Regions from separate parts of the Homo sapiens genome. Here region 2 is linked to region 1. The links are contacts of gene promoters, found by promoter capture Hi-C in human tissues and cell types (Jung and others, 2019). All regions are on one chromosome and are shown on one strand. The core of a region is centred on a gene start or on the middle of the fragment in contact, and the rest is flanking DNA. Distances in the headings are between cores, read along the strand shown. Region 1 holds the start of CST5 (cystatin D). Region 2 has its middle 18 kb from the start of GGTLC1.

What was found. The method cuts DNA at HindIII sites, captures the fragments that hold promoters and counts their contacts. A contact is called where the count stands out against the background at its distance.
Region 2: a contact is called between a fragment that was not itself captured here and the fragment with the promoter of CST5 in region 1, in 2 of the 25 tissues and cell types used here (dorsolateral prefrontal cortex and spleen).

The regions. Positions count from the first base shown.
Region 1 is chr20:23,877,792-23,881,549 of GRCh38, forward strand. It overlaps CST5 (cystatin D), which reads right to left and starts at 1,957. Exons shown (of 3, transcript NM_001900.5): 1 at 1,655-1,957. The coding sequence starts at 1,885. RefSeq lists an enhancer at 1,450-2,279. The HindIII fragment of the contact is 5,935 bases long and covers 1-3,758 here.
Region 2 is chr20:23,968,533-23,972,290 of GRCh38, forward strand. No RefSeq gene overlaps it. Among named protein-coding and RNA genes, the nearest start is that of GGTLC1, 18 kb to the right of the region's middle. The HindIII fragment of the contact is 5,449 bases long and covers 1-3,758 here.

The sequences.
Region 1 (3,758 bases), core at 707-3,206:
GTCCTTCCTAGTAACTTGTTTTCTCTGGGTATCTCAAGCAAGCTGTCTCATGCAGCCCAGTAGAAAGAGAAGCAGGGGCAGGGCAGATGGAAGCCAGGGCCTAAAACCCCCTTCACTGGATTCAGGAACAGAAGGCACAGCTCTGGGGAACCAGCCAGGGTGGGACAAAGAAACAGTCCTGGCACCAGGCTTGCAGGGCAGGGTCTAAGCACCAAGTGAATGCTCTTTCCCACAGCAAAGGATTAACTGAATTCTGCTACCTGTGCTCAGGGGGCAGGGACACTGGTCCCATCCTAGGAAGGCTGCCACCTGATGATGAAATTTCAGCTAACTTCCAGCTCCTGGCATTCAGTCCACAGAGCATCTCATTCCTGCCATTTAACCCAGAGGTATTTTTCCTCATTTCTCAGTAGGAGATGAGATGCTCACATACATTGATGTTTTAGGCCAATAAACATTGCCTCCTGCATGCCTCCATTCCAGGTGTGATTTTCAAGGCAATATTTCTAAAGTGAGTCACACACCTGCATGTCTTAGGGTTGCAACTTCAGAAGAGAACTGAATGCTTTCCCTGCACAGTGCCGCCCCAAAACATGACTTGTCAGAACTGTGGAGAAGCATGGGATGAGGGACCCTGGGACCAGGGTGCTAGACCTTGCCCTGTGGAACCACACACAAGTCCTGTAGAACCACATGGAAGTCCTGTGATCCCTCCGGTGTCAGTCTGCTGCTCTGTAAAATAGGCTCCAGGGCCCAACGATCTACATCATTCTGTGCTTCACTCCCAGTGAGTGACACACTTAAGAGGGAGTGCAGGCCAGCAGGGACCACAGCACCAGGGAATGCCCCTCCTGTGCAGGGAGAGGGCTGCAGGAGGAGAAACAGGGCTGGTCTGGACTCCTCTGACTTTCCAAGAGAAGGTGGAGGAGCTCTAAAGGCTGGCAGGCCATATAGCCCTGTGGTCGCTGTGTCACTGCTGCTCTGCCATGGGACGTAGGTCAAGCTGGGCTCGGTAGCCCTGCTGAAGCTTCCTCCCTCTGGACCCAACCACCTCCTTCACTCTGCTGGGTGATTGCTGTCCTCATTTTGCTGAGGTCTAACTCTGCGTTAGCTGGCAGAGGCAGGGTCAGGCATGCTCTACCCCAGCAGGAACTCAGCTGTCCTGGGCTGTAGGGGGTGGTCAGCCAGCCTGAGAGTGAAGGCCACTAGCCATAACGGGCTGTGCCCAGGGGCGTGACTTGGGAGGGAAGCGGGGCTATCCAGGACAAGGAGTCAGGTTCCCGTGTGGCCCCTGTGGAGAGGACTCAGGGAGGAAGATGAACCTCGTGGCCTGGATCTCATCCTGAGCAGCATCAAGCCCACCCAGAGTCAGCACAGTCTCCATCCACACCTGCTGGACCCTGGGAAATGCCACAGTCATGGTACAGACACAGTGGCTGCTGCAGGTTAAAAGAGGCCGAGGGGACAGGACAGGGCTGAACTCATGCACTCACGGCCAAGGAGTGTCCTAGGGCATGAAGACCATCAGCAGACAGTCAGAGAAAGCTGAATGAGTCTGCGGTTTAGATAATGTTGATTTGCTGGGAGTGCTCTGGGGGGTGAGGCAAAAAACCCAGCTGGGACTCAGGACCCCCAGGGTGGTGGTAGCACGCACCTGCTGGTAGGCAGCCATCACCTGCAGAGGGCGGCTGTAGTACTCATCCTTATTAATGACCTTGTTGTACTCGCTGATGGCAAAGTCCAGGGCACACTGCACACTCTTGTCATTGAGGTCTGTGGCATGGATGCCACCTGCCAAGGTCCTAGATTGGGCCGAGGCACTCCCGGCCACGGCCACCATCAAGGCAGTCAGCAGCAGCAGTGGGGTGTGCATGGGCCACATCATGTTCTACTGGGACACAGAGCAAGGAGCTGGATCTCCCAGAGAGCAAAGCAGCAGAAGGCTGAGGCAGGAAGCCCAGGCCAGAAGCTAGCTGTGCATTTATCCTACTTGGGTGTCCCCCAACCCCACCTGCTCCCTGGCCCCGCCCCTGGCTCCTCCTCCTCTTTCTACCCCTCCTCTTCTGTCTCTATCTCCCTTTCCACCCCCAACCACCTCCCTCCCTCCCTAAGTTCCCTTCGCTCCTCCCATGCCTCCTCCTCATCCTCCTCCCCACTCCTGTCCTGACCGCAACCTCCCCACAGCCCTGCCCCTCTTCCTCAGTGCTCTAAAGCTTGGCTCACTCTGGATTCCAGAGAGGTGACACCGCTCCCTGGGCTGTGAAACCTGGTGACCACCTATGTCCACAGGAAAGGGAGAAATACAGGGCTTGGCCTTCTAAAGTCTTCAGATGTCAGGGGCATCCAGGAGCACGTGGTCATGGTCTGGGAATTCCTGGGGCAGGGAGCTGTTTCAGAAGCTCCGGGATGACCTTGTCCATGCCCTCTTCTGGGGAACTTCTTTGCCAAACATAAAGTAATTAACCTTTGGGTAAAGTTCACTGGGTTCTCGTTTCATAACTCCTCATTATTCAATAAACAAACCTGTCACCAGCTTCCCCCTGCACCAAGCAGTCTGGGCAATAGAGCCGTAGACATGAACTTGCAGAGCTGCCATCCAACAGAGATGTGACAGAAACCCAGGAGCAATTTAAAACACATTTGAAAAAGTTAAAAGATACAGCTGAAAGTAATTTTGGTATTTCTACTTTAACCTAATATATCCAAAATACTTCAACACTTCAGGACTATTCTTAAGGAGCTAGTTTACATTCTTTTGTGTGAGTGTAATGTCTTGAAGTTCCCTGTGTATTTTTTACAGTTAGACCAAGCGTCACTGTGGACTAGCCCCATTTCAAGTGCCCTGTGGCCACGAGTGGCTGCTGGTGGCTGTGGTACTGCATAGCCCAGCCATTAGGGTGTGTGGGAGGATGCAGAGTGGTGATCAACAATTTAGATCAGGGAATTATAGTCGCTCAGTTAGAGAGAGGGTGGGTGCTACTGGACCCTGGTCAGGGAAGTCTCTAAGAGACCGGAAAGGTTGAGAAGCCCCAGGCAGCAGGGAATAGTCAGTGCAAAGGCCCTGAGGCAAGGCTGGGCATGCCTGCTCCAGGAAGAGGAAGCTCCTGGAGGGGGTGTGAGCAGGGAAGGGAACGACCTGGAGTCTCACGGTAACTGTGGGTGTGTCCAGGTGGAAGGCGCAGGGAGACCCCTGGCAGGTGGTGGGGGTGTCAGGAGAAGGAGCAGCAGCCACAGGATGAATGTGGGAGCCCAAGAGCCTCTCTTGCTCCTCCCCTCTGGGAGACGTGCTGCCAGCACTGGTCCTCTGTACACTGCTTGGAAAACTCATGTAATATTTTAAAAATTACATTGAATGAGGTAGAATTTACACACAATAAAATGCCTAATTGTATGTGCCCAATCTGGGGGATTTCATAAATGCATACACTTGTGTTACCACTTTGTCCACACCTGTGATATCTGCCTCACCCCAGATGGTTTCCTCCTGCCTCTGAAGCCCACCCTCATGCCCACCCGACCCTGGCAGCCCACATCTGGTCCTGTGGACTCCTTTGTTGCCTGTCCTTGAGCTTCCCAGGAATGGAATCCTGCAGAGAGAGCCCAGGTGTGTCTTCGTCCTTTGCTCAGCGTGGCTTCATTGCCAGGATTGAGAGTTCTCCTTCTCCACAGACTGAGAGGATGTGGTCAGTTGGGTGCCCTGTGGGCTGACAAAGCCCCCAGCTCGGGATGCTGTGGGCCTGGACTGGAATGTGACTTCA
Region 2 (3,758 bases), core at 324-2,823, 90 kb after region 1:
ATTCACACATTTTTTAAAAAATTATATCTGACAAATCACCATCAGTGTATGAAAGGATCGAAACAGTGCATAATAAGATGGGCCATTCCTCCTAGCAGGAAGCCAGTTGAGAAAATTACTCAGCTGCAAATGTGTGCTACCTTTCATGGAAAAAGAAGGATTCAGATAGTGGAAACAAGAATCCCAAGGACCAGTTGAGGAGGCACAGAGAAGAACAGATGGGCATGAGTAGGACTGAGTCCTAAACATCCAACATTTTTTAAGCTGGATTCCAGAACTGCTGCAGCCAGGGGTGCTGGTGCACCTCTTGTTTCCCTCTTTTTGAATAGGAGGGCTGAAGGTGGTTCTTACTGTTTTATTCTGCTGAGCCCAGAGCTGGCATCACCCCAAAAGTGGCAGCAGAGGAGGTCCCACAACAGAGAGCCCCAAACCCTCCCATGATGGGGCCAGTTGGGATTACAAAGAAAGAAGCACTAAACTTCAGTCCAGAGCATTATTTGGGGAACTTAATTAACAGAGGGCTGCAGCAATCCTCGCGATACACAGTGTGAGAAAAGGCTGCTCTGCCTACACAAGTCCACAGTGAGGGGTCAGGGCATGAGGCCAGTTTCTTTCAGTGTTTGGGGCAACAACCTAGATACCCTTATCAGTGCCTGAAAATGTTCAAGATATAACTTTGTTTGATTTGAGCCTGCTTCGAAGAACCTGTAGCTGTCTGAGTCACAGAGATCAAGACATTCTGTGGTTTTCTGTCCAGACACAGAAGGAAAGAGGGGGTATCTGGGGACTCTACACCTATTCCTGTACCCATTTTATGTTGAGGGGGAAAGATCTGATCTTTTCAATTCAAGAGTTGTGAGGAACTATAACAGACCACGGATTTCAGCTGATGGGATGGGATCACTTTTATAGGAGTCTTGGGAAGGGTTGAGTTATTTTGCATGTCTGATGGACAGAACTCATTGAGGCCAGAGGGAAGATGGTGGCATACAGCCCCTGGGATGGGTCCCAGGCTTCTAATAGTCACATCCCTCAGTGGTTTCCTCCCACAGTGCACCAGCATTGGGATGGCAGAACTGGTGATGTGGTACCTCTGGGATAAGGCAACAAAAGACACTGTGGCTTGCATTTTGGTAGCTCTCTCCCAGCCCACTGTCCACAGGGAAAGCCAACTGCTATGTTGTGAGCAGCCCTATGAGAGGCCCACATGGTGAGGAGCTGGGGCCTCCTGCCCACAGCCATGCAAGAGCATTTAGAAGCAGATCTTGCAGCCCTGATCAAAACCTCAGATGACTGCAACCTTGGATGAAACTTGGCAATAGACCCTGAGCCAGAGCCAACCAGCTAAGATGCTCCTGGACTTCTGACCCATAGCACTGTGAGGTCATGAATTTCACCATGCCTCAGGGTATTTTGTTACATAGCAGTGGATAACTAGTACACAAGGTAGCATTGTGCTGCCCTAAAGCTGACTCTAGATAATGTAATAACGGTCTTGGTCTACAATCTGGTGTGCTGAGGAAGAGCAACTGTGGAGGAGGCTGGGAGCCACTTTAGTAGGTGGTAACTCCCTCAGTGCCATCTGCTAATAGTAGGAGTCAGACTTTGACTACTGTCTCTTGACTCTGCCCTCAGGGGAGGGCCCTTCCGAGGGAGCAGTGGTCAAGAGCAAGGTGCTGTGCCAGGCTGCTGCTGCTGAGAAGCAGGTGCTGGGAGCTGCTGCTGCTAAGAGCATCTGCTCAGAAAGAAGGGTGCCAAGGGCACCTGCAGTAGCTGGGGGAACACCTGGAGGCCCAACTTTACCATTTTCCATGAGGCAGAAACCTTGTTGGTTTACCACTGTAGCCTCAATGGCTCACAAAGAGATAGCTTGCTTTTCAGATTCACCTACCTATAGGATTTACTTTTGACATCTATAGGACAATAGAGATTGGCTCCCAATTTATTGCTTAGGTTTTTTTGTTGTAATTTAAAATGTATAGAAAAGTTGCAAGAGTTGTAGAAGGAGCTCATATATATATATGCAGATTTACTGACAATTTACAATTTGCCAAATTTGGTACCTATTGATCTATTTACTTGAGAGTAAATTGGGGACATTGTGCCCCTTTTATCTTTAAACAGTTCAGCATGTGTTTCTCAAGAAGAAGGATATCCTATTATATAACCACAGTACAGTTTTCAGAGTCAAACAATTTAATATTGATATAATGCCATTATGTAATCCACAGCCCATATTCAGATTTCATCAATTGTCCCCAAAGTTTTCTCTTCCCCTCTCTAAAATCCAATACAGGATTACATGGTCCATTGACTGATGCATCTTCTTGGTCTGTCTTAAACCTAATCACTTTCACAGTCTTTATGTGGGCCTCTTGATCATGGATTTTGTCTTAAAAAAAAAAACAGAGTAAAGCCAGTTACTTTGTAGGATGCCCTTGACATGATTTTTCAACTTCACGATTAAATTCACATGATGTATTTTTTGGCAGGAATGCCACAGAGGTGGCACTTTGTCCTTCCCAGTGCACACATGAGAAGACGCATGACCATGGCTGCCCCTACGTTAGCGATGTTAACCTTCATCCCCGGGTTAAGATGGTGACTCCTGGGGTTCTCCAAAAAGAGGCTATCAATTTCATCTTTATAATTAGTAGGGATCTAGCAGGGAGATGTTTGGAGACTATGTAACTATCTTGCTCCTCATCAACCTTTAATCCAGTAGTTTTATTATTCATTGATGTTCTAACTTTACTTTTTCCACATTTATTTGTTCATATTCCTATCAGAAAAAATACTTTCTTCTCATTTGTTTATTACTTTGTGCATTCATAACAATAAGAACTTTTGATGCTTATTTTATTCTATATGTTATGGTACCTAACTAGTATAATTCATATTGTTGCTGTATTGTCAGATGTGCTCAGCAGGAGGCCTGTCAGCAACCTCCTGTATCCTTTGGCATGACCTCATGCTTCTTGAAGAACTTCCTTATTTTATGGCTTAACATGATGTTTTGGTTTCAATTTATTTTTTCTTAAGAGCAAAGCAATAATTTCTTACTGGGCCCCTGGTGGGGTTATTAGCCTATAAAGAACTCTACAGTATGGACTCCTTGAAATACATCCTCAGGCCCTTGTATTCTTTATACAGTTAAAAAATAAGGCATACATTCCCTCCCATGGGACTTTGTGTGAAATGGAAGCTTTGAAATGTGAAAACCTTCACCTCAGAGGAACAGCTGGTGAAGAGATACCATTAAGACAGAAATGGCTTGGAGTAGAAACACATTTGCATCCAAACAGTTGCATCCAAACATTTGCATCCAAACATTTGCATCCAAACAGTTGCCTCAAGAACTCTCCTTCTTGGCTGCCCCTTGGGTTAGCTTTGCAGGTCATGCTTTTCTGATATCCAGTGAGTCTGTCAATATTTTGGCAAAGAAGGCATCCCCTCTGTCCTGGTACCATAGGATTCCTGGCACAACGCCTGCTCCTCTGTTTTGTGGAGGTGAGGTTGCCACAGGTCAGTGTCTCTGCCAGGTGACAAGGCTTAATCTGCTGGATTTAATCTACTGGATTAAATTTCCTTATGAGGTAGAAGATGGAATGGAAATAAACTCACCTCGAGTCTGCATCCTAGCACAACAGAGGTGGAAAGGACTTCTGACAAATTCACAAATGATTCTTGCCCTATTATTTGTGTTGATTACATGCACTCCATTTCTTGATGATGAAAATGCCTTGATGATGAAAAAT